Regions from separate parts of the Homo sapiens genome. Here all the other regions are linked to region 1. The links are contacts of gene promoters, found by promoter capture Hi-C in blood cells and fetal thymus (Javierre and others, 2016). All regions are on one chromosome and are shown on one strand. Each heading gives the region's core, a stretch centred on a gene start or on the middle of the fragment in contact. The rest is flanking DNA. Distances are from core to core; before and after follow the strand shown.

Region 1 (6,761 bases), core at 1,570-4,069:
GTGATGCTAGATAAAGTGTCTCCTCATATCATAGGTATGAACCAAAAACAACTTCTGCTACTGTATAGCTGAGGCTTTTTTTTTTCCTCAATGGTGAACCCATCATGAATATGCTTTTTCTTTTTAAGAAGAGAAACTAGCTTTAGCAAGTCATAAGGATTCCTAAGATATGGCTACCAGCCATGAAAATCCCGGAGTAGAAAGAAAAACAACCCCAAGTCAGACTCATCAACACATCAGAGTTGAAGGCCAGGGTAAGGAACGTAGGTGTCCCAGTGCCTGGCACCAGTTCCACCATTTGAGGTGGCTTTGGACTGGCATACAAAGCCTCAAAGTTAGCCGAGGGCTAGGCAGGATGGAGGCAGGGAGAGAAGGCGGGCTGACCTGCGCTCCAGTCCCTATGCAAACCTGGAAGGTGAGCAGGGAGAAGAACCCCTGATGCCACCCAGGGCCCCGCTCTGACCTGCAGGCTCATAGGTGGGCAGTCATTATGGGACTTTAAGCAGAGTGACAAGGTTTGATTTATAAAACTTCAGCCTGAAATATTCGCCTTTTTTCCACCCTCAACCTCTTCCCATCCTAACTCATTCTTCAGGCTTCTTCATGGATGAGATTTTCTTCCATCTGTACGGATACCCCTCATTGTTTAGGTTAGGTGGCCTCCCTCTTCTCTCCTCACTCAGGGCTTAGTACCTTTGGTCATCATAATACCGCCCATTTTGTATGGTTCATTGCTTCTTGTTTGTCTTCCTCCATACTGTAAGTGCTTGTTCACCCCCCAGCCCCAGTGCCCAGCACAGTACCTGCTTCAAAATATCAACTTGCTGTACTAATGGAGGATAAATGGATTAATGTTTACTTTTTAGCTATTTCATATTTATTTTATATTTAGCTCTTATTACATATTTAGATTTTATTCGATTAGCTTTCTTTTTCTCCCTTAACCACTGAATAAAGTTCCTTTTGAAAACGTCAGCCTGGCTCTAATGGACAGGGAGAAAAAAGAAAAGATAACTTTAAACAGCTTGGAAGGAAAATTAAAGATAGAGAAGTTTCCCCTCCCCCCTCCCCCACCCTCCGCATCCCCTTCCCTCTCCCTTTTCCTCCCTCTCTCTGTCAGCTCTTTGAGATGGTGGAAGCCTCAAGCAGAGATCCAAGGTGGAGGAGGCATTCCCTTCCACAAAGAAGACCTCTTGTGCAGCCGCTCTAAATAAAGGGACGCTGTTCTCTTGAAAGCATCTCTAGAGTTTTCTATGCAGTGTGTTTACGGGTGCCTAGGAGAACCTGGCAAAGCAATGTGCGGTTCCTATATACGCTAAAATCCCAGGCTCCGAAAAAATACAGAGTGAAACAGCAGATTCTCCTCCCCGGCGTGGGATCCAATTTTTGCCCGGCATAAGTGTATAGTAAATTTCCCAGCCTTAAAGCACTTCCCGAGAGATGCTTTGAGCGCTCGCGGTACCAGTGCGTAAACGCCGCTCCCCGGCTGGCGCGGGTGTGCGCCAACTCCAACCTGCGCGCAAGTCTGCCGGTGCGCGCTCCAGTCCCACAGCTCCGAGTCCCCGCAGTGAAAGGAGGGGGCGGTGCACCGGGGTAGATGGGCCCCTGAGGACTCCCGGGGTTCAGTTTTCCGCGGAACTCTGCCTGCAGCAGTCTGGCGGGAACGTGCTGCGGAGCTCATCCCATCTTGGCTTCTCCAAAAGGGTTTATACGGACTGGCGAGTCTTTGCCCTGCCTCCTCCAAGTGTCTGGCACCAGTTCTACCGTTTGAAATGGTCTTGGACTGGGATACGAGGCCTCAAAGTCAGAAGACGGCAGGGCAGGATGGAGGCGGGCAGAGAAGGCTGGCTGACCTGTCCTCCAGCCCCTATGCAAACCTGGAAGGGGAACAGGGAGAAGGACCACCGATGCCACCCCGAGCCCGGCTCTGGCCTGCAGGCTTGGCAGGCGCGGAGGCGGAGGCTGCCAGGTCCCCGGGAGGCAAACGCAGCGCCGCAGTGATTGCTGGCGGAGAGCCCAGAGCCGCGCGTCTGAGCGACAAGCTGCCTATGAGTGTGGCTCCTGCGCTCACCAAGATTCGCAGGGAGCTCAGCCCTGTCCCCAGTGATTGAGCAGAGGCTCATCCAGAGGGGTCAGGTGGAGGGCTCAAATGGAGCTTCTCCTGGAACGAGGGGCCAAGTCACCAGGGTGGCTGAGGAAAGTGTCCTCAAAGCTTAGAGACTGTCACTTCCCAGGTGAATCAGCTAGCCAGGTAACTGAGCTAGATATTTTGTGGGGGTGTTTCCTAAACACAGCCTCAGGAAAGTTGTTTTCGGGACACCTGGACCAGGGAGTCGTCGCCTCTGGCTTCTCGGTAGCTGGAGCGCGGCCCGGAGCGCGGCGCTGGCACATCGCCCCCACACATGACCGTTTCCCATTGCCACAGGCAAGCCGCCTCTGCAGAGCTGTCTCAGGGCTCTGGGCTTCATTCCCTGGAAGTTGATTGTCCTCCACTCCAGCTGTTTCCCAAATCCTTCCTTCCTCCCAGCACCCCTCGTGCAACGACGATTCCAGCTGCGGACCGCATCTGTGTCAGTTACTTCCAAGCCACCTACTGCCCCCTCGCGGAGTGCGTGGGGCTCCCGGCTCGCAGACTCCCACGGCAAGTAGCAAGCAGCAAAAGGCGTGGTAGCTGCGGCGGTGGAATGAGACAGTTGTCAACAGCTGGCGCAGCTGCCGCGCTGCGCACCGGGACTGGCGAGTACGCAGCCCAGGTACTGCCCCTTCCCAGTGACGTCTCTGCAGGGGGTTATAAAAGCCTCGTGCGCAGCTAACTCGCGAGCTGAGCAACCCGAACCGAGAGGTGCCCGCGAAACTGCAGGCGGCGGCAGCGGCAGCAAAAGAGAAGGAAAAATCTCCAGCTGGATACGAAGCTCCAGAATCCTGGCCATAGGCTCAGAACTTTTACAGGTCGCGCTGCAATGGGCCCCCACTTCGCTCCTAAGTCCTCACGCAGCACAGGGCTTTGCCTTTCCCTGCGGAGGAAGGAGAAATAGGAGTTGCAGGCAGCAGCAGGTGCATAAATGCGGGGGATCTCTTGCTTCCTAGAACTGTGACCGGTGGAATTTCTTTCCCTTTTTCAGTTTACCGCAAGAGAGATGCTGTCTCCAGACTTCTGAACTCAAACGTCTCCTGAAGCTTGAAAGTGGAGGAATTCAGAGCCACCGCGGGCAGGCGGGCAGTGCATCCAGAAGCGTTTATATTCTGAGCGCCAGTTCAGCTTTCAAAAAGAGTGCTGCCCAGAAAAAGCCTTCCACCCTCCTGTCTGGCTTTAGAAGGACCCTGAGCCCCAGGCGCCAGCCACAGGACTCTGCTGCAGAGGGGGGTTGTGTACAGATAGTAGGGCTTTACCGCCTAGCTTCGAAATGGATAACGTCCTCCCGGTGGACTCAGACCTCTCCCCAAACATCTCCACTAACACCTCGGAACCCAATCAGTTCGTGCAACCAGCCTGGCAAATTGTCCTTTGGGCAGCTGCCTACACGGTCATTGTGGTGACCTCTGTGGTGGGCAACGTGGTAGTGATGTGGATCATCTTAGCCCACAAAAGAATGAGGACAGTGACGAACTATTTTCTGGTGAACCTGGCCTTCGCGGAGGCCTCCATGGCTGCATTCAATACAGTGGTGAACTTCACCTATGCTGTCCACAACGAATGGTACTACGGCCTGTTCTACTGCAAGTTCCACAACTTCTTTCCCATCGCCGCTGTCTTCGCCAGTATCTACTCCATGACGGCTGTGGCCTTTGATAGGTGAGATTAGCCTTTGTGAAAAGGCGAGAAAGTGCTCATAGAGGACCACGGCATTGCTGTGAGGTTTGGAACTGGGTGGGGTATGGGTCAAGTGGAAGATTGGCCACTCTGAGGGTTTTTTTACTGATCAACTGAGTCATTTGTTGATGGGGAACTTCATCTTATGTATTTCAACTTTTTTTCCTCTTTTTTACCCATCACTCTCTCTCTTCCTTTCAACACACATCCCCCTTTTCTTCATTTAACTCCCCTTTCTTCATCTCTTCTCCACTCATCTTCCTGACACTTTCAACTTCTGCTTTGCTCCTTTCCATATATTCCTTCTCCCCTTTACCCTTGCAGGCTGCAAACAATACCTAGGGTTTGGTCAAAGGACTAGACCCTGGAAGGGGCTTTGTAAATTCCTCCAGGCCTGTTTTTCTGTCAGACAGCCTCTTGTTGCCTTCCTGTTTTAAGTACACCTAGAGGATTCTGGGACTTTCTGCTCCCACTGCAACTCTCCAGTTTGTTGTTGTAGTTGTTGTTGTTGTTTGGTTGGTTGGTTCGTTGGTTTGTGTTTGTTTGTTTGTTTGTTTTGGATGTGAAAGAGCATTTCATCAGTATCATAAGATACTCAGAATTCTAATGCAGTTTACTCTGTAATGCTAGGAATTCTCATTCAGGAATGAGAGACAGTTATGCTATCCTTAAGAAACTCCACGGATAGGGATCCAGGAAGCTTACCCAAGAGGTGTTCTAAATTTCTCCTGCAATGTAAAATGTATGTATTTAGCCTGTCTCTATCCACAGAGAAACATGCTTGGCAAAGGCATTTGAGAGCTCTTCTGTTCCGGCAACCAACAGGTTAGGGTTCCCAAAGCTGACTGAAAGTGAAAAGGTTGGCATTTCAAACACTGGGGATGGTATTCTGGAATGAATGGCTCTTCAGGTAGCATGATGGAAAATTGATTATTGGAGCACAGCTCTGTTGGTATTGTCTCCTTTGTGAGTATCTTAGGTCTCCAATGTGTATGTCTATGTGTGCACAGGTGTTAAATGTTTACCTGGGATGTGAAAGTATGCTTAAAACACCTACCACTGTGATTTTAAAATGGAGTCTTTTGATGTCCTTCCTGAGATAACTGAATGTGAGAAACCCAAAGAAGGAGCTAGGAGAAAACTTCAAAAAAAATTCCAAACTACTAACCCTCTTTGCATAAAGATTGTTTATAACTTGCAAATTATTAGAAGTCTTTTTTAGCTCCTGTAGTCAATGAACACTTTTAAAATCAGGGAAATCTTCATTTCCATCCTTTGCAGTGGTGTCCAAATACTGATTTGTTAGTTCCCTGTACATCTCTCTATATGCAGCTCCTATGTGCTTACTATGTTTTATGTAAAACAAATTGTGGAAAATCAGTTTGTATTTTAAATGTAGATGGTAAACCAATTACTCAAAGTGGGAGTGAAATGAATTATTTTGCAAATTTATCTTTTGTACTACACTGGTTTTCAGATATTCAGTTTGCTGAAAGTGAGGTACACCTGTAAATCTTTCTGCATTGACATGCTCCTTTAATCTCATAACAGCTTCCTTAAACTTAAAAAAGTCGATAGCATGATATATAAGTGAATATCAGGGTAGTGAAACCTGATGCCAGTTCAGCCTTACAAACACTCTCTTGATGCCCCCTAAATTAGAGGGCAAGTTTTTTGGGGGGTTTTGTTTGTTTGTTTGCTTTTTCTGCACTGGGGCTTTGCACAAGCTCTAGGAAGACCTGTCAGTCAGTGTGAGCTGGAGCATTCAGTAGCTGATGGAGCACCAGCAGACAGCTCTCTCTTTTGGCTTACACAGAAACATGTTCTGCAGCCCTGATCTTTCCTCTGGAACTTAGAAGGTTAGGGGTGGGGATGAGAGTCAGAGTCCGCACAGTGGATTGGGCAGGGAGCCAGATTTCAGCTCCGTTGTTGTTTTTCTCTAGGTAAACCACCGCAGAGCCCCGACCCTCTGTGATACCTGCTCAGTGAGACCAAAAGGTCTCGGATGCCAGAGCTTTAGGAAATGACAGCGACAGGGAATGTCACCATGTTTCCAACATGCAGATACAGCCCAGGGAGGTTACCAATGGCATTCCTAAGATTAGAGTTCAAGGTAGAATTAGGGATGAGACTTCAGGTCTCTGTCTCCATGTCTGCCAAGTGCTCCTTCTATTTTTTCTTGCTCAGCCTGGTGAGCACACTATAAACTCACCCCCTCAGGCCTTCCAATGAATATATTTCCTGCATGTGTGGTCATCCATTCTCTCCCAAGAATGTATTGGAAAGAAAGGGGGCTTTAAGTCCTCTCCCTGTAAGTTATCTCCCTTTTCTCCAGCATGGAAATGCAGACTTAGAGGAAATATTAAATCAGCTGTTTGTATATTCCTTGAATTTTTAACAGACAACCTTTGAATCAAGTCTTTAAAAATAACAGCAATGTGGCTTTCCTGATTGTAAAATTAAACCTGTTCACTGCAGAAGACTTGGGAAATATGAAGAGCACAAAAATCCAATCCCCCTTACCTAACCGACAAGAAGCAACACCTGCTAACCTTTGAATTTCTCTTTTATGACTATTATACTACATAATTGAGGTTAGATTCTATATAATTTTGTAGCCTATATTTTTCCATTGGTATTAATGAAAGACTTTAATAACACCTTCCTGTGTTATTCAAAAGTTTTCAGAAACATAATCTTAATGGCTTCATACTATTCTATTATGTGAATATGCTATTATTATTTACGTAGTCATTTCTCTACTGTTGTGTATTTAGGTGATTTCTAGATTTTTGCTATTATAATTAATAATCTAAGGAATATTTATATATGATAATTTTGTTTTGCCTTCTTGATTATTTTCTTAAGATAGATCCCAATAAGTAGAATTACTACATCAAATAAAATGAATTTTTAAAAAGCTATATCTTCTCATTTTAAAGGATTTTTA
Region 2 (6,750 bases), core at 1,601-4,100, 360 kb before region 1:
TAACAGTAGCTGATCGGTGGTGCTCAGTGGTGTCATGGGTGGAACACGATCCTCCTATCAAATCTTGTCATCACGACATTTGCGCCACTGAGGGAATGCCACAGCCTCCACTCACTGAGAATTAAAACTATCACATCTTTGTATTAGCTGAAGGGGCCCTGGCTTCTAGACTTTTTCCATGAACTGGATGTGCTGTTGGCCACAACATCAGTGTGGGCGGATTGTGGTTCCCTGCTCTGACCACCAGCGCCATGGGAGCCCTGTGCACTCTGCTGGCATTACCTGCCCACATCTGCAAGGCTGCTCACACTGAGAGCCCCAGCTATCAGCCTTGGGCCGAGAACCGGGCATGAAGTGGTTACTTGAGATCCTGAGCTGCAGATCCTAGTTTCCTGGGATGAACCCTTTTCTTCCTCTAATTCTTCATCTCTGGTTAGAACTGGAGCTGTACGCTGTGCCTGTGCACATGGACTCCCTACTCCTCTGCCCTTCCTGTATCAGCCTGTGCGTTCCAACCTCTCCTGTGTTCCCTGACCACCTCCACCCTGAAGGTCTATCCAGCAGACCCTATGAGACCAGGATAGGGAGCTTCAAAAGGTAGCCATTGAGAATTTGCCCTAGTCTAGCAGAGGCTTAATGCCCCTTTCTCACATCTGACCTAAGGTCTTAATTGATATTTGGCACTGTTCCATAAATATGTCTCCCTAGAAATGGAAAATAGCTATTTCCCTCTTTTATAATAATTTTGCCATTAATGAAGCAATGGGCCCTCTCATCTTAGAATAAATCACCCCAGTGTTCAGTTTCTCTTAACAGTCTGTGGGTTATCTCTCCTCATCTCCTCTCAGCCTAGAGTGTCAAGCCACACACGGTACCTTCAAAAAAGAGCAATCAAAGACAACTTATTTTGTGGGTAGGAAAATGAGGCACAGAGAGTTTTGATGACTTGTAACCATAACAAGCGAATGGGACTTGAAGTGAAGATTCTTGCCTCCATAGAATGGGGGTGGGCAGAGGTGGTAGACAGGAACAACAATGCAATAGAATGTATACTTAAGAAACGGGCTACAGAGATGAACAGATCTTCATGTTGTTCCAGTTTTCTTATTTATAAAATAACAGAACAAGAATACTTAGCCAATCAAGATGCTGTGTTGATTAAAAGAAATGTATGTGGAAAGGATTGGCGTAGAGTTCGGTATCTATGAGGCTCTCATTAAAAGCATACACACACACATGAACACACGTGTGCATGCAAGCATGAAGTTAGTAGCTTTGAGGGGTTCCTTTCCAAGGTGCAGCCATAACCCATAGGTCCTCTGACATAGCTCCTGGTAGAATCTACCTCTGTAGGATCCTTAAGTAGTCATTTATCTCAATGTTGGCCTTCATGCAGGGATGCATGTTCTGGAGAATGACCCGTAGGAACCCCAAGAGGGGCTCTCAGGCTAGCAACGGATGCACTTCTGTCCTGCTGCACAACCAGAAGTAGATAATCTAGATGGCAGCTCTAGTCTCTCCATACCTGTGATTCCTGAAATCTGTTGAAGTGTAGGGGGTTCAACAGTATCTGCTTCATTTTAATAAAATGAGGCAATGTTTATAAGTGAGACACAGCCCAGTGACTGGCACGTACTAAGTACCAACACATATTAGCAGTTCTTAGTAGTGGTAGTATTTTTAAATCCAAAGGTAGATTGGGTCAGAGTGCTTCCAGGTGTCCTTTCTCCAGCCTGGGGGCAAATAAGTAGGCTCAAGATTAGGGCCCATCTATAGAAAGTCTGTGCTCACCTATTGGCACCTGTGCCCTATCTATTTATTTCTTTACTAATTAGTTCATTCAACACACATTTACTGAGCACTGATTGTATGTGTGCTCCTGTACTCGGCACACAAACCTCTGATCTCTGATATTCGTACAGGGCTGTGCCCTTGGCTAACACACGTAGTATTACATCAGGAAACCCCGCTTCTCATCACAGCCTCTCCATATGCCTGCTGGAAAGCTGGAGAGTTAGGGGGAGCTCTGATGATGGCCCTTGCATGCCAGAGTGTGGAATTTGGAGTCAGGCAAGTATGTATTCTTTTTACAGATAAGGAAACAGAGGTCGGAGAGGGGAGTACTTTCTCAAGTTCAGAGAGTAATTTAGTGCTGTCTGAGGCTAGAACCTTGTTCCCTGATTAGTTTAGGAAACAAGGGCCCTTTCTACCAGACCAGTTGCCTCTGCATGAGAGTGGAATAACCTGTCTTTACGTTTTCATCTACAGATAGGTGTTGTTTTCCTTTTGAAGAGCAGCATTTCAAGGTAAAATGAAGTAGCTCTTGAGTAAGTCTGAAACAGTGGCTCTCATCTCTGGCTGTATGAGATCATCTTGAGAGCATCTGAAAAAAAACTGATGTGGGAGCTCCACCCCAGACAATTACAGAAATATTTGTGAGGGTGGAGCTGGGGCCACCTATTGGTTTTTAAAGCTCCCCAGGTGTTTCTAATAGACACCCAGGGCTCCATAGTCTAATATACAATCAGTCCAATATACAGCATAATATACAGTCAGTGGTCTAGCAGCCAGTGCTTCCAAATTCTAATGCACATTTGAATCATCTAGGGATCTTGTTAAGCTGCAGATACTAATCCAGTGGTTCAAGTGCGGCCCGAGGGTTTTCATTTCCATAAAGCTTCCATGTGGTGTTAGTACTGCCAGTCTCTGGACCACACTTGGAGTAGCAGCTCCAGAAGGCACTCTGGGATTCTAGTCATCCACGTGGTCACTGGCTACTCTAGCCAGAGGCCTGGGAGTCACCTCTCTCCTTCATCCTCTCCTCATCTTCTCCCTTTCAAGCCCTTGGTCATCAGATCTTGTCAGTTCCATCACACTGCTTCTAGGAGCTCCTCTCCTTTCCTAACGGACTGGCACAATATTTTCCTCCCTGTTCCCCACCATCACTCACTGCCCTGGCTGTGCTCTTTGCTAGACCGCCTCCTGAAGGCTTTCTTATTCCGTCTTCCCTCTGTCCAAGCTTTTATTTTGATTCTGTAGAAGGCTCTTTCACTCCGTGACCCATCTCTTAAGAGACCACCGCAACCCGGGACCTGTTCTCTCCCTGCACTCTTCCCCTATGACGATTGTATAGGAACAGGGTGTCCCTCTAGTTGTTTCTGCGTTTCCAGCCCCCAGCTGAGCGCCCATCACTCTCAATAAAATACTTGTTGATTTTAACAAACAAAACCCCAACCCTGAAAGAGAAAGGCCAAACAGAGGCCTCAGCTGCATTTCTTCCGATAAAAATGAACATTCCTTCGAGATTATGCATCAGGCTTTAACTTCCCACTCAGAAAAAAAAAAAAAAAAAAGTTGATCAAATTTAACAAAGTAAGTGGTTATTTCCTGTCTGAGTTGAGTAGCTGAATACAGGCTCAAAGCAGGCGACGGGACAGGAATGAGAGGATGGATGCTGGCAGGGGCTTGGAGGTCTGCTTTCAAATCTGGGCTCGTCCCAGCAGGGGGAAAGCCTGGAGGACCGGGATAGGTTGGGGACTGCCGATGGGGAACCTCCCCGGTCCTGCGGACAGTCGGCAGCGCGGGGAGGCAGGCAGGAGTTGGGAGCGTGAACTAACTTGGCGCGGAGGGAGGTGCCGCACGCCGCAGCCGTTCAGGTTTCGCGTCTTGCGGGCGCCCACATGGGCCGCTGGCTTGCAGAAGGGGGCGGGGGAGAGGGAGGGCAGGTCCGGAGCCAAGCGGGTGGAGGAGGGGGGAGATCGAAGGAAATGAGACAACCTTTTCCTCCCACTGACTCGGGCTCCTGCAGCTTCTGCGGGGCTTGGCGCCGCCGTCCGTGAGCACCCAGGCCGGGACCCCACATCCCCAGGCCAGCCCTGACCCCGGCGGCCCCTCCGCCGGGATTCCTTTCCGAGGTACTGGTGCCGGCCCAAGACCCGGGCAGCGCTTTGTCGTGTCCGCCCCTCAGTGATCAGCTCCGGGTCCCCCTGCTCGGCCCCGCGCGCCCCAAGCGCAGTCCCCGGAAGTGCGCGCCGGGGCCCCAGCAAAGGTAAGAGGTGCCCGAGAGCGCTCCCTGAACTCTGGGGGCGCCCGGCATCCCCAGCGGGCTCCGGCTTCTCCGAAGCGCCCTCTTTTCGGAAACACCCAGAGCACTTCTGACCTGAAGCAGCTGCTTTGTTCCCAAGTCCCTGCCCAGGTGTTGTAGGCTGGGTCCCACAGGGAACTCTGCTTCCCAGCGCTTTCTTTTTTGCCTCCTCTTCCTCCCACTTTCCTGTTTCTTCTCTCGCCCCCCCTGCTTCTTTCTGGATAGAACAACTCTCAACTCCCTGCCTCTGCAGCCCAGCTTCGGAAAGCAGGTCGTTCCCAAATCTAGCGCTTCTCTCCTGTGCCTCTGGGAGCTGGGCTGAGCCTGACTGGCTTCTATCCCAAGCCTGCGCGGGGCGGACCTGCCAGAAATGTACGTGCTGCACCGTGGACTATTTACCTGGTTTGTTTCGGAGGCAGCCAACTCGCCGCGCGCATTTGGCGACCCCCAGGACCCCGAAAGCCGAGTGCATCAGGGAGTGAAAGGCTGTTGGCGCCCCCTAAAGTCCCAGTGGGACGCTTTGCTTTTGGAGAGGGGCGCGCAGACAGTCCACGCTGCTCTATCTGGGAGGTCTGCGTGGGGGTCCCCACCCCTACTATTGAGGGGTAAGGGGAGGTGTTGGCACGCAGTACGGAGCGCGTTGGGACATGGAGGAAATGAGGATGTCCTGGAAGGAGAGGAGTGCCAACCACATCGTGCTGGCTTGCCATGTTGTTCTTATTAACTGCCTGAGTTCTCATAACAAGCCTGTGTGTAGGGACTCTTACCCCTATTTTACAAACGGGCAAAATGAGATGGGGCCACACAGCTAGCTAGGAAAGGGCCCAGCCAGGATTTGGGTCCTAGCTGGTCTATACCACACATACACTTCAAGTCCAGCCCTACAGAAGATTCTTCTTTTTAGTCTGAGCAAGAACCGTCCCCCCAACTCCCCCGCCCCCCCCCCACCTCCTTTCTCATAGTACAAGGGACCAGGCTTTTTCCGTTTTGACCTAATATACCTTGATTATATTCAAACCCAAACTACTTATTATCTACTGTCCTCTGAGTTCAGCGGCAAGCACTGAGGTTTCACCTTTGAATCTTATTAATTCATCCCCTTCTTGTCATCCAGTCTGTCACGAAATGTGTAATACTGTTCAGAAGGCTGGCTTGAATCTCCTTTCCATAAAGGCAGTCAAGCGCAGTGGCTAAGAGCCCGGGCCCTGGAGTGAGACCACCAGCTTGAATCCTGGCTGGGGCCTTCCTGTACCTTTCTGTAGCTGGATTTCCTCATCTGTAAAGCAGGGATGCTAGGGCTTAAAGTAATGGTTTTCAACGGAATTTTGATTTTACTTCCCAAGTGACATCCAGCAATGTCTGGAGACATATTTGGCTGTCATCATGTAAGTAGAAGAGGATCTTATTCATCTGGTGGGTAGAGGCCAGGGATGCTGCCACATCCTGTATTGCACAAGACATCTCCCCCCTCCCCCACTCCGCTTCCAAGATTTAAGAATTATCTAGCCTAAAATGTTAATAGTGCTGAGGTTGAGAAGCCCAGGTTTAATGTTTCACTTCATGAAGAGTGCCATTATTTCCAGCTCTCATCCTTTTATCTGCTCTAGTTTGGCTGATTATACCAGTCTCTGTCCCAGTCTTTCCCTCCATTCCAGTGCCAGAATTCTGTTGCCAAATCCACAGCAGGTCATGCGGCTATATTGCCTTAGCACCCTTGTTGGTCCCCTATTGCTAGCAGAAGGGATGGGAATTGGGAATCTGCAGGTGTTTTACAAGCACTGAAGGTAATTCCTCTGCATGTTAAAGTTTGAAAATCACTGTCTTTACAGAATAAAATGTAACCCCCGACCTTGTACACATGGCTCTTCACAACTGGCCTCACCTTATGCCACTTCGTCAATGTTCCTGACATTCCCCCAACCCACTATTCTTTTGGTATTCTAGGTCCTGACTTTTTGGAATGCCCTTCTTCCTCCTTGGCTGGCAATCAATCTTTGAGACTAGAAGTTAAGTCTCCTTTTGGGTGAAGCATCATTCTTCAGTTCCTACAGACCATTTTGTTGCTCCCTGCCCTGCCCCAGGTTGGGGGAAAGCCTCAGCCTCAGCCTCAGCCTCCCCTCTCCCCTCCTTTTTTTTAAAAAATAAATATGTATCTCTTGCAGTATTTTGTTTATCTCTCCCCTGGTCTTACATACTTAGAATCTAGCTTAGTGCCGTCGATGCTCACAGTGATGGTTTCAGGCTTTGGCGTCAGGCTTCTTGCGTTCAAATCTCAGTTCTGCCGCTTATTAACTCTGTTAAAAGTTAATTACTTGACCTTGGTCAAGTTGAATCAGTCTCTCAAAGTCTTCTTGGTAAGAAGAAATAGCGTACCTTCTCTGCAGACTAGTATGACTAACTAATGGAATAATAATCATTCATCTTAATACTGAGTGCCTACCTAATTCCAGGACATGGTTCAAGTTTAGCATTTTATACATTTTTACTCATTTAAAACCTATAATGTCCTTTACAGTTACTACTGGTATTGCCCTTTTTTCCAGACAAAGAAACAGAGGCACAGAGAGGCTAAGCACTTTGCCCAGAGTCATGGAGCTAATGAGCGGTAGGGCCAAGATTCACGCACACATCTGGATTTCAAAACACATACTCTTTACACTATGCGG
Region 3 (6,691 bases), core at 1,647-4,146, 420 kb before region 1:
CACAAGAGCATTGAAAAAAATAAAACGTTTATTAAAGTGCCTGGCAAGGAGTACACGTCAGTGAATACATCCACTGAGAACTTTGCAGAGGGGAAAAGTTAGGAGGGTTTGAGTGCTAGGAAAGGGAGAGTTCAGGCTAGGATGCTAATTAAGGGTTGAATGAGTCCATGTGTCTCTTCCATTGTTCACTGGTCAGCAAAGATCTTCCAGTAGTTCTGTTAGGTCTGTCTTCTTAGGGTCACTCAATTTCATGGTTCTTTCTCAATCAGTTGGAATGAAATATCTAATTTTATGTTGTCATCTTCTGGGGCAAGTGTAAGTGGAAAATTTCCCTTTGACAATTTTACCTCCTTTTGCCATTAAAATCATTGTTTGTTTTGCATCTAAACACTGCTTGTTTTCTATCTGTAGAATAGATCCTCAAAATGAGATTTCTAGTCCGATAGGTATGTGGATTTGTGATTTTATTAGAAATTGTCCAAGTAACGACTGGAGGCGGTGGCTCCCACCTGTAATCCCAACACTTTCGGAGGCCAAGGAGGGTGGATCACCTGAGGTCAGGAGTTTGAGATCAGCCTGGCCAACATGGTGAAACCCTGTCTCTACTAAAAATAATAATAATAAAAAATTAGCTGGGCATAGTGGCGTGCACCAGTAGTCCCAGATACTCGGGAGGCTGAGGCAGGAGAATCACTTGAACCCGGGAGGCAGAGGTTGCAGTGAGCCAAAATCACGCCACTGCACTCCAGTCTGGGCAACAGAGTGACACTCATCTCAAAATAAATAAATAAATAAATGTCCAAGTATCTTTCAAAAGTGTAGGGATTCACTCACCACCAACAATCATAGGCGTTTTTATTTCCTTCCTCTTTGTCAGTTCTGCATGTTAGCTCTTTTAAATTTTTGTTACAAATATGCAACTAGAAGAAATAAGACCTGTGTTCAATAGATCAATAGGGTGACCATATATAGTTAATATTAATCTATTGTACATTTCAAAATAGCTAAAAGAGAACAATTCAAATGTTCCTAGCATGAAAAAAAGATAAATGTTTGACGTGATAGATATCCCAGTTACACTGCTGATTGTATGAACATATCAAATTATCACAAGCACCCTGAAAACATGTACATCTATTATGTATCAATTTAAATCAGTAAAAATAGAAATCTTTTTTACTAAAATTATTTAAATATTTGCCAATCTTAGATGTGAAAACTATTTCATTTTTGTGTTAATTTACATCTCCCTACTAGTGAGATTGAGTTTCCTATTGTAGGTTTGTTAGTTATCTGCATTTCTTCATTTTATCAATGGCCTGTTCAACTCCTTTGCCCATTTTTCTTTTAGTCTGTTTTAAAATAAATTTGTAGGCATTCTTTGTATATTAGGTATACTAACCTGTGTATCACATGTATTAAAAGTATTTTGTCTGCGCTATCATTTGCATTTTCTTTCTGGTAACTTTTATCATAAACATTAAAAAATGATAGTATAATATACCAATCTAATCATTTATAACTTCTGGATTTTATGTCTTCTTAAGGAGTCCTCATTCTCAAAATTTTACACCAATTCTTCCAATATATAAATAAAGTACCCTCATCACATATGATTTTCTTTTTTTTTTTTTTTTTGTAGTGTTCTTCTTGTCTGTCTTGGTAGGGCACCCAAAGAGATGAGTTGATTCCTTCCTGCAGCCTGGTAGCCACTCAGATTCTTGGAGATGCTTCAGTTGACTGGAGCTTCCTATCTGATTACAGCAGTCCATGTGGGGATGTCAGATGCCAGTGCAGAGCCAGCCTTTGGTGAATGGAGACGTGAATGGGAAAGCAGAGAAGGGAGGCACGGATATGTGGATGTAGCTAGATACTGCATGGAACTCAACCTCCCACAGTGGAAGTGAAGTGGAATAAAGTGGGTGCTGAGGACCCACTTCGGGAAGGCCTCAGGTGCCTGCTGCATGTGGGGTCAGAGTGACTGATGCTTCGTGTCTCCGAATGATAAACCTCATGGAAGGTAGTGAAAGATCAGAGAGTTCTCCCTCCCGATCTGAGAGAATGACTCCTTTCCTTGCTAGTGCCCATAGTGTGGGTGTTTAGATTTTTTCTGCCTTACAAGTGCATGTGATAGAAGAGGCTGCATTTCCTTGTTTCTCTTCCCTCCCAGACATCAGCAACACCTGTGGCCACTCTCCAAGGTGTTGAAGTTGCACCCTGCCCTCTGGCCATGTCCACAGTGCTGAGATACTCTTTAGACACTTACTTCTAGATAAAGACCTTGATACATATTGGGCCATTAGGCAGCTTGTGGATTGCTTTTTGCTTCACCCTAGCTGGCCATATGTGAGATAGGGCACTACTGACGAGCAGCTCTCATTTGGGGGATATAAGATGAGAGGAACACACAGGCTGCTGTGGTTGGTCACCTACTCCCAGTGTTTTTCCTAGTTCTTTGCCTTTCCGACCTAGAAACTCCCACCATCACCTCAATTATCTAGATTCAAACCTTCTGCTGAGCTGTGGAGTAATATAATTCTGCCAAAGACTGTTTGGCTGTATCCTTTGTCTCATTCCTGAAATCCTACACATGAATCTAGCATAGAATGTTTTTGCAGCAGACCTCAGGAGAGCTGCCTTCATCACATAGCAGATGACTAGCCTTGCCTCCCTCACTCTGTCTCTTCTTGCTCAATTCAAGTCCCCATTTTGGAAACACTTCTCTTGCTATGCCTTGGAACCCTCTCCAGAACATGATGCTTCTCTATTTTTCCTTCGGCTCCATTTGCATGGCAAAGTTTGGGCAAGGGTTGCTCATGTAAGTACCTCCTTAGAATCAACTAACCATGCCTACTTCCTGACTAGTTCAGGGAAGGAGTCTATCACAGAGAAGGGGGAACTTTGGAAGGAGACTAAGGAAATACAGGTAGAGGCAGTGGAGAAAAACCAGGAGAGAGCAGTGGCATAGAAGCCAATGGAAAAAAGAATTCCAGGAAGGAAGAAGTTTTCTATCTTTGAAAAATGAAATCTCCCTGGCAGAGCGGATGAGAACAATGGACATTTCAAGGTGCCTGCATGTTTTGTGTTCCTAACTGGAGCAGTGCCTACCAAAGTGGAGCACAGTGGGCAAGGGTACCAGTGGGAGTGGGTCCTACTGGGCAAGGGTAACAGTGGGAGTGGTTCCAGTGGGGAGGAGTATTTTATTGCTGAGATTGTTAGAATTGCTGGCACATGGTGATAATAGAAAGCAGATGAATATTCAGTTGAGTTTATTATTGCTTTTAAATTATTTACACCCAGGCGCTCCCTTATTGCACCCAGGGCAGACCACTCCCATCCTCCATCACCCCCTTAGTACACTGCTGAAATGGAGAAACCCATTACGAACAATTTATTTTGTCCAGAATGGATGAGTTTGGTACAGGCAGAGAGGCCCAGAACTACAAGGAAGGCGAACTCTGCTATTTTCTGCTTAATAAAGCAAGCTATTGATTTTTAAGGCATACCGGAAGAGAGTGACATGCCTGACCTAGAAAACAGAGAAGCAGATAATATTTAGGACGAAAAGAACAGCTAGACTTATGGTGACATACATCTCCACTATCCCAAATTCTGGGGAAAAGCCTTGTGGATTGGCTTGGGTTGGGGTGAATGACGAATCCTGGAAATGGGGTAAAGAAAAGAGACAACCCATCACAGGAAACAAACACAAGTGATATCACGAGTTCATGAAAAGCTAGGACTCAGAGCCAAAGGGACCATGAAGAATCTTGGGAGTCTTGGAGGGGCACTGGACTTCACATGGCATCATGTAGAAGCAGAACCTTTGGAATGTGAGTGTAAAGAGGCAGAAATCCATTTGTTTCTTCCTGGCTTCTCTGTAGTAAGAGGGACAGGCGAGTGGGCCCGGGTGCATTCAGAAAAAGGAAGTGTAGAGCAGGCAGCCCTGGCCTGGCCTCTCGAGGTCTTAAGCTCACATACAGAAGATCCTTGAGGCTGATAGACCAAACAAAGAGATTCACAGTGGAAGCCTACCAGCAACACAGTGTGGGTTTGAATGCTGGGTCCCTTCTGATGAATTTCTTAAGAATCAAACATGGCAGCCAGAGCAGTAGAAACAAATTTGGGATCTTGGTTTCAAACATTAACCACAGTATACCTTCAAAAAAAGTCAGTTGCATTAATTAAAATGACCCAATAGGAGTGAAAAGTAGTGGGAAAAAATAGGATATAAGAACTCAAATTTACATATTTAGAGGTGGGTAGAGTTGGGCTCAAATAGGTCCTGGAGCAATTACTCAGTGGACACATAACAAACAATTACTGAGCAACTACTTTGTGTAAAACATTACACTAGGGACTAGAAATAAAAAATTTCTTAAGACCTTGTTCTTAACCTGTGGAGTTTCTGTTACAGAGCATGTCATTCTGACATGGGGCGAGTTGTGCCCTCCCCCAATTTTTTCTTCTCTACCAGGATTTCCTGACCATCTTTCAAGATCTTTCTTGATGAAACTACCCAACAATGCCATGAAAAAAAAATAGCTCTATCCCTCTTTGCTTCTAAAGACTTCTTTTAAACTCATATCATCTAAACTTTATTGCTGTTTCTGTACTCGTCTTCCTTGGTAGACAGTGTAGAAGAGAAACATTTTGTGTTGTTTAGATTTGAATCTGTTAGATTCATGATGTTTATTAACATGTGTGCATTGACCCATAAGTGGGGTGTGAAATTGGTAGATTTTTGACTGGTACTTTAAAAAACTGGAGTAGAAGAGAACGGAAACTGTCAAAGTGATTCACACATTAAGAATGAGTAATGCTTCATGAAATTTGTTTCTATTATTTATGTGAGTGTCTTGAGTCACAATGTAAAATATTTTTACTAAGGATCATTTAAAAAATCAATAAAACACTGGAGGCTCAGTAATTTGGGATAGACTATAGGAAGAAACCTAGACCTAGAGATTCTGAAGTTTTCAGATTATAAACAGATCTATACTATACATAGAAAGCAATGGGTTACACAAGTTTATAGCTTAAGTAAACCAATAAAATAGCAAACATGTCTATACATTAAGGCAGGAGTCAGCAAACTATTTCTGTAAAGATAGTAAATATTTTAGGTTTTATAGACTATAAGTTTCCTGTCACGACTCTGCAACTCTACCATCATAGCACAAACGCAGCCACAGATGATGTGTAATGGAATGACAATGGCTGGGTTCCAATAAAATTTGAATTTTACATAATTTTCATGTGTCAGGAAACAGTCTTTTGATTTGTTTCAAGCATGTATGAATGTAAAAGCCATTCTTAGCTCATGATGTTTTAAAAGATAGTGTATTAATAGAAAATTTGAGCTCCAGGAAGGCCAACAGATTGAGAGATGATTGCCTTCAAAAACAGTTTGTCGACCAGGCGCAGTGGCTCATCCCAGTAATCCCAGCCCTTTGGGAGGCCAAGGTGGGTGGATCATTTGGGGTCAGGAGTTTCAGAGCAGCCTGGCCAACATGGTGAAACCCTGTTTCTACTAAAAATACAAAAGTAGCTGGGTGTGGTGGTGCACACCTGTAGTCCCAGTTACTCAGGAGGCTGAACTAAGAGAATCACTTGAACCTGGGAGATGGAGGTTGCAGTGAGCCAAGATCGCACCACTGCACTCTGGCCTGGGCAACAGAGTGAGACTCTGTCTCAAAACAAACAAACAAAAAAGAAGAAAGAAAACATAGTTTGTGACTTGTTACTCGCAGCTCCCAAGAGAAGGAGGCATGTCACACCTTGGGGGCCCACACAGGGCCTGTGTGTTGGAAGCATTGGGGCTGGTCAGGAGGCAAAGGGGGAGGGAAAGATTGCTAGAGCCTTTATTGTGATTTTTGTGGAAAGGAATGGAGTAAGCTAGATATGCAGGTTTAAGCTTGGCTGGTTTGAATAATTACAGTGGGCTCTGGGGATAAAAACTATGCCTGGTTGTCTGATACCTGGTCCTGGGGTAATTAGGGCAGGTGGATAAATGCCTGGAGTGTGAAAGCTCAATAAAGGAGATGATTGGGGTTGTGGGCTCTGGATTTGGTTGGTTTGTATTTGAAAATCACACTCATGGGTGAGTTCATCTTTAGGAGTTAGCTAATCCTAGGAGAGGCAATCTCCAGTGTTACCAAGGCTCCAGATGTCAAAGCCTCAGAATATAGAAAAGATGAGGTTAATACACATGGGCTGTGTACAAATAGGTGATGGGCTGGGTTTGGCTCATGGGCTATAGATTGCCAACCAATGGGCTAAGAGAAGAAAGATAATGTCAAATACCAAACATGCAGTTGTAAAAAATAAATTAAGAGTAAATTAGGAATATCTCATGAAGCTTCCTATCTTTGCTAGTAAACACTGAAGAAATTGTTATTTATCATAAACACTGAGCATCTCTAATCTGAAAATCCAAAAGCCTAAATTCTTTGAGCACTGACACGACACCACAAGTGGAAAATTTCACAGCTCATCTCATGTGGTGGGTCCCAGTCAAAACACAGTCAACACTTTGTTTCATGCACAAAATTACCTAAAATATTGTATCAAATTAACTTCAGCCTAGGTGTACAAGATGTGTATGAAACATAAGTGAATTTTGCGTTTAGACTTGGGTCTTATCCCCCAAGATATCTCATTCTGTAAATATAAATACTTCAAAATCTGA
Region 4 (6,343 bases), core at 3,553-6,052, 280 kb before region 1:
AGATCCCCAAGGCATTGATTGTTTGTGATGAAGATAATTTTCTTAAGTGTGTGAAGGTCTCTTTTATCTGATTTCATTTATTCTTTCCTCTACCATTAATCATTTCCTTGTCTCTTTCAATTTTAGAGTCTCTCCCATCTCTCCTACATTAATTTAGACGTGGCTGTGTGATAGAGCTTGCAGTTCATTTTTTCAAGTTCAATTTAGCACTCAGAATGTTACAAAATTCCTACAGGTCTTGAAGGCATGGGCTTTTCTTCTTGAACTGCAATGGCTGTTCTTAACTTCACGAAATACAGGTCCTCAGTCCCTCAAGGGTTGAACAAATAAAGGTAAACTTCTAAAACTTAAACACTGGAAGTATGCCTCTTGTGTCTGCAAAATAGTCACATCATATATTCCATTATTTCTGCCTTCAAGACCATCTCAGTCTCACTCATATGACACTTGACCCTCAGACACAATTTATCTCCTGTCTATAGGAAAAACCATCATTTAGTTACTGAGATATTGAACTAATATACAAAATGTCTTGGCTAAGGTGGCTCATGCTTGTAACTCAGCACGTAGGGAGACTCACTTGTGGCCAGGAGATGAGCCTGGGAAACATAGCAAGACCCTGTCTCTACAAAAAAATGTATAAAATTAACCAGGTGTTGTGACGCATGCTTGCAGTCCTAGCAACTCAGGAGGCTGAGATGGGAGGATTACTTGAGCCCAGGAGTTTGAGGCTGTAGTAAGTTATGATCACACTACTGTACTCCAGCGTATGCAACAGAGCAAGACGCTGTCTCAAAAAGAAAAAAAAAATTAAATTTAAAAAATAAAATAAAAGAAGAAAAAAAGGAAAGTCTCTTTTCCTAACCATTTATTACCTTTTCATTTTCTTTCTTTCAGTGGTAGGTAGAGATGAGCCTACTGGTGGTGACAGTGAAATTAAAAATAACCTTCACTTCCAGCTGTCATTTGAACAACACAAGGAACCTCTGAGGCTCTCAGAAGAGAGGTTTATCTGGGCCTGAGGCCAGGGCCCATATTAGGGACTCCATTCAGAACCAGAATCATGCAACTAGCTCCACATCATCAAAAAAGATGAGATGATTAACTAAAAATTTTCCGCTATAGTCCTGAAAATTTGTTTTTAGCCAGTCTCTAGTCTTTTTATGGAAAGTTTCTGATGCCTTATACCCTGTTACAACACTAAATCTGGCAGATACTTTGGAATAGAAAAACTGTGGCCATTTAGGGCAATACCTGGGTATTTCCAGGTGAATTTCTCAAATGAGAAAAGTGCATTTCTGAATCAGGAACTTTTTATAGAAAGGCGCTACATGAACAAAAATACATTTTCTCTTTATGATGTTACTGTTACTCTGTAGGATTAGACTTTTGCTTATCTGGAACTCAAGAGACTGTTTCTACGTTCTTGGATATGTCTTCCAGTGGGTAATTCATCCTCAATGTGTATTGAAGGGTGACCAGGATATAGATAAGTGACAAAGGCAAGATAAAACATAAGAGATTTAACTGAATGGCATGAGCTTCTAAGGAAGTAGTTTACAAAAGATTGCAGAGCAGAATTCGGCAAACTATAGCCATGAGCCAAATCCCACCACCACACGTTTGTGTACCACTTGCAAGCCAAGAATGGTTTTTCCATTTTTAAATAGTTACATTTTAAGCAGTTATGCAAGCACCTATATTATACCCTAGATTTTGTCTCTTGGACCACAAAGTCTAAAATTATTTACCATATGACCCTTTATGGAAAAAGTTTGCTGATGCCTATTGTAGAGAAATGATCTGGAGATATCAATAGGGAAAAAGACCAACGCAGAACCTAATCTCCCCTTCCCCAACTGTAGTAGAGTTTGCTGAATAACCCCCGACATCTGTCCACATCCTAACCTCTGGAGCTTGTGAATGTGTTACCTTATATGGCAAAAGGGACTTTACAAATATAATTGAGTTAAGTATCTTGAGATGTGAAGATGATCCTGAGTTATCTGGTTAGACCTAATGTAATCACGAGTCTTTATGCGGGGGAGGGTCAGGGTCACAGTCAGAGAAGGAGCTGTGACAGCAGAAGCAGAGGTTGGAGTAACGCAGCCGTGAGCCAAGGAATACAAGCAGCCTCTGAAAAAGGCAAGAAATAGGATTATCCCATAGTGTTTCCAGACATAACACAGCCCTGAGGACATCTTTCTTTAAGCCCCATAAGATTCATTTCAAACCCCGGCCTCCAGAACTGTAAGACAACACATTGATGTTGTTTTGGGCCACTAGATTTATGGTAATTTATTGCAGCAGCAATAGATAACAAACAACTTTTTCAGCCCTACACGCCCCGGGTTGTAGAAGAATCACAGGGTTCCCCACAGAGTCTCATGATGTATAATGAATTCCCATAGGCCAGCTGGGTAAGAGGAGAGGTACAGTTGTAAGAGGAAGTTCAGAGTGTAGAACATACAGATAATCATAGAATTCTAGTTTTAGAGAGCACTTTGAAAAGGAAGAGCCCAGTTGTAAGGTCAGTGGTAAAGAGAAGAACTGCAAAGTAGAATATGGCTAAAAGTCAAGGGGACAAAGATGATTGCAAGATGTGGGAGATCAGATATGGTTGCGTTAGCTAGCTTCAGGTTCTATGTGGCCTCTGCCCAGGTGTCTAGATGAAACTAAATGATATCCACATTGGCAGAAGAGCAGAAAGAAGAGAGCCCTAAAAATTATCAGGGTGTGTTTTTATGTCAGCCATATAAACCATGTGACTTTCTGTCCAATTAGAATCTTTAGCTCCACTTACCTCTTAAATTCAGATGAATTTTCCTCCCCGGAACCTAGAATCCATCTGCTTATTATAATCTCTGTAATTTGCACACAGTGGCATTCTTGGCAGCCAGTTATTTGTGGCAGATACAACATTTAGAGTTCAAAATTATGTCCTTTTTCCAGAAACTGTTCATTAAACAAACCAGTATGTCTTAAGACATTTCTCAAATTATATTCACCAGTGACCACCCCTTGGAACTGAGGAGCTATAGAGCAAACTTCAGGAAGTGCCTCCTTAAAGCATTTAAATTGAGTGCAGAGCACATATTAAAATTCAAATTTGGAGTGAGTTTCTGCTTGTGTTCCTAGCCTTAAAAGAGACACCAGTACATAGAATTCCTGAGGCTTTCTCAGAAATTTGAGTCCATAATGGTACAGGGCTCACAGTTAAAAATTATTTGTGAACAATATGAACATAAAAATGTGAAAATCCAAAGCTAGCTTTGGAAGTTCTCTCCAAATCCCTGAGTAGTTTCTGAACTTTCTGAACCAACTTACATGTATGTGCAATGATCCACAATGTTCCTTTACCCAGGATGTCTTCAACCACAATCACCAGCTCCCTTTAGGTGATGGGGACCACAGACAAGACTTCTTTAGGGACCAGCAAGGCAGCAGGTGTTGCTAAAGACCTCCTTGAGATGCAGAATGCCCACATCTGCTCCTTTGCCTAATGCTGAAAGGATTCAAGAATGCTGGTGTTTCCTGGGTGGAAATAAAACAGAACCCTGGGAATCAACCTGAATCAATCTTGATAGCCTGCAAATGAAAGAGGCAGGCAGTTTATTAATTGAATTTCTCTGCTGTTAATGCTGTTAATGCTGTTAAAGGATATTTAGTCAGGTAATTTCTTATTTGTCATCACAACTAGATTCTAAGTTTTATGAGGTCAATAAATTTTGTCTTGATATTCCTAGCACAATGCCATACCTTAGCATGTGCTCAGTAAACATGTGCTACATGAATGAAGGAATGTTAAGTTTTCACATCCAAAAGCTTTTTTTTGAAATGCAGAGGAAATTTTGGTGTTGTTGCAATTGCTGTACAAGGTGGTAATACTAATTGTATTATTTTGAGTTCTTTTCTGCAAAGCTAATTGAAGTTGCCAAAAGAGAATAAAATGCCTTCTTTTGGTGAAAAATGAACAAATAAATACAACTAACTCTTGGTTATGTCTGAAAATTTCTATTATTTAATATGAAAAAAATCTGTGAAAGGGTAGAATGTTTGTAAAGCACACTTTTTTTTTTAACCCACCAAGATCCCTTGACATAGATTCTGGAGTTCCTACTCGCACTTCAACAAATGTTTACTGAATAATTACTATGTTCAGAACATCAAAAGGATTATGTCCCCTGCCTCAGTCAGCCAGAGAAGATAAAAAAGTGCTTAATGGCTATTTAGCAAAGCATAAATTGGTACGAATGAGACTGAAAGATATGAAGTGTTAGGATTTCCGAGAATAAAGACAAAACTGGCAGCTGGAGAACACAGCCATGGAGCTGCCTCCATTTCCCTGAAGTATTCAGTTTTAGTGAGAATGAAGACTCAGCACACAAAGAAAGCCAAATAAATACACATTAAAAGTAAACATGTATCCGTTAGCCGTCTTTCCTCAAAGCTGAACACTTACACTTCCTGTGTCAGTTGGCAAACAGCAGATGGCAAACAGCAGGTACTCACCATATTTGCCTTCTTTTCTCAGAAAGGCGGCCTTATCAGTACATTCGAGTTACCAGCACACTAGATTATTTATTGTTTACCAAAGCCCTTTGTGGGTAAATAACATATTCTCATATATAAAAGAATCTTCCAAGACCAGAATCTACCATCCTAGATTAACAGAAAATGTCTGTTTGATCCAGGATTTTGGTCCATTTGAAATAATCTTAAATTACTATGTCACTATACCTTTCTGAAATATCCACAGGGATCCTAAAAGTGGGTCCAAAATGTGATGAGAATGCTGACAGAAAAGTGGGGAGTGATGCATTTCATCTCTAGGAAACAGCCAGAGACAGTTTCAGAGATGGAGTAATTTACAGACAGTGAGTAGTTCCTGTTGGCTACAGGCAGAGGGCATGCTAAGTGGAATGGTGGAGAGCACATCTGGCAAGCTAAGTTGGATCTAGTTCCTGGACTTTGAGAACTAACTGGCTGATATGATTGGCTATTTGTCCTTAGGCAGTGGAGAGTATGGAAGGTTTATGAGCCAAAATATGATCAGCACTGTGCTTCAAAAAAAGTTAATCTGGATTGGAAAGAGTAGAGTCTGGTCATAAGGGATTTACCGATACTGAAATAGTTTGGTTGCAGAATCAAGAAGCTCTGACAACTGATTAAATGTCGATGAGAGAGGAGGGTGCAGCCAAAGATGGCTCCAAGAGTTCAAGCCTGTTTTATTTAAACTTTCAATATTATTAAAATTATACCAGTAGAGGCCAGGCACGGTGGCTCATGCCTGTAATCCCAGAACTTTGGGAGGCCAAGGTAGGTGGGTCACCTGAGGTCAGGAGTTCAAGACCAGCCTGGCCAACATGGTGAAACCCTGTCTCTACTAAAAATACAAAAAATTAGCTGGGCGTGGTGGCGGGCGCCTGTAATCCCAGCCACTCAGGAGGCTGAGGCAGGAGAAATGCTTGAACCTGGGAGGCAGAGGTTGCAGTGAGCCAAGATTGCACCATTGCACTCCAGCCTGGGCAATAAGAGTGAAAAAAAAAATTATACCAGTAGAATTAATAACATAGAGGAGTACTGTTACATTTACATAATGTTTTACACGCATTATCTTGTTTAATAGAAATAATGGAGTTGATGAGGGTTTTTTGGGGGCAGTGGGTTATAGCTGACATCTGTTGCTTTTGCCTACTTAGCATACTTTTCCCTTTTACTCATTTTTTTCTATAGATAACTAAGCCTTCCTGCTCTGAGTTTATGTGATTGAAGCTTATCAATAACTCCCCAAATCTTATACTTTAATAGAGCATATTTCCACATTTGAGTCATGCCATTGGTTACAGGTTGGCCAGTGTACTGGGTTAGCCCAGTGAAATTCAATTGTAGGATTTTTTATGAAACTATCGGGAAAGACAAGTTCTCTCCCTTTCTGTAGGTTTACTAAGCCAGTGAAGGAAAGCCTGGGGCTTATGGGAGCTATAACATGGAGACCCTGACCTAGAAAGTCAGTGAGCACATACACACACACACACACACACACACACACACACACACACACACACGTGAGAGAGAGAGAGAGGATGGTGGGAGGGAGTGAGAGAAGAGGTGAGGAGAGCAGACTCAATTTCTGATAATACTGTTTGAGTTCCTGGATGTAGCTCAGGAGTCTTTTGGCTGCACAGGAAAATTTATTACTCTTTTTTCCCATATAAGCCAGTTTAAGTTGCATTTCCATCATTTGCAATCAGAAGGACGCTAGTAACTACAGTGATCATGTGTTTGACTTGAACATATAGAATTTCAGGTCCCAGAATTATATTCCAGTGGACTATAACTC

What was found. The method cuts DNA at HindIII sites, captures the fragments that hold promoters and counts their contacts. A CHiCAGO score of 5 or more calls a contact.
Region 2: a contact is called between a fragment that was not itself captured here and the fragment with the promoter of TACR1 in region 1, in 2 of 17 cell types (naive B cells and total B cells). The highest score is 5.7, in naive B cells.
Region 3: a contact is called between a fragment that was not itself captured here and the fragment with the promoter of TACR1 in region 1, in 3 of 17 cell types (megakaryocytes, fetal thymus and naive B cells). The highest score is 7.2, in megakaryocytes.
Region 4: a contact is called between a fragment that was not itself captured here and the fragment with the promoter of TACR1 in region 1, in 5 of 17 cell types (total B cells, megakaryocytes, erythroblasts and 2 more). The highest score is 8.9, in total B cells.

The regions. Positions count from the first base shown.
Region 1 is chr2:75,195,578-75,202,338 of GRCh38, reverse strand. It overlaps TACR1 (tachykinin receptor 1), which reads left to right and starts at 2,819. Exons shown (of 5, transcript NM_001058.4): 1 at 2,819-3,793. The coding sequence starts at 3,405. All of the region lies in intron 2 of TACR1-AS1 (TACR1 antisense RNA 1), which reads right to left. The HindIII fragment of the contact is 965 bases long and covers 2,215-3,179 here.
Region 2 is chr2:75,557,978-75,564,727 of GRCh38, reverse strand. It overlaps EVA1A (eva-1 homolog A, regulator of programmed cell death), which reads left to right and starts at 3,789. Exons shown (of 4, transcript NM_001135032.2): 1 at 3,789-4,048. RefSeq lists a silencer at 3,780-3,839. The HindIII fragment of the contact is 342 bases long and covers 2,680-3,021 here.
Region 3 is chr2:75,618,634-75,625,324 of GRCh38, reverse strand. LOC124906026 (a long non-coding RNA gene) reads right to left here. Exons shown (of 3, transcript XR_007087115.1): 3 at 1,319-6,691. Among named protein-coding and RNA genes, the nearest start is that of MRPL19, 25 kb to the left of the region's middle. The HindIII fragment of the contact is 6,046 bases long and covers 1-5,919 here.
Region 4 is chr2:75,479,683-75,486,025 of GRCh38, reverse strand. No RefSeq gene overlaps it. Among named protein-coding and RNA genes, the nearest start is that of EVA1A-AS, 41 kb to the left of the region's middle. The HindIII fragment of the contact is 1,950 bases long and covers 3,828-5,777 here.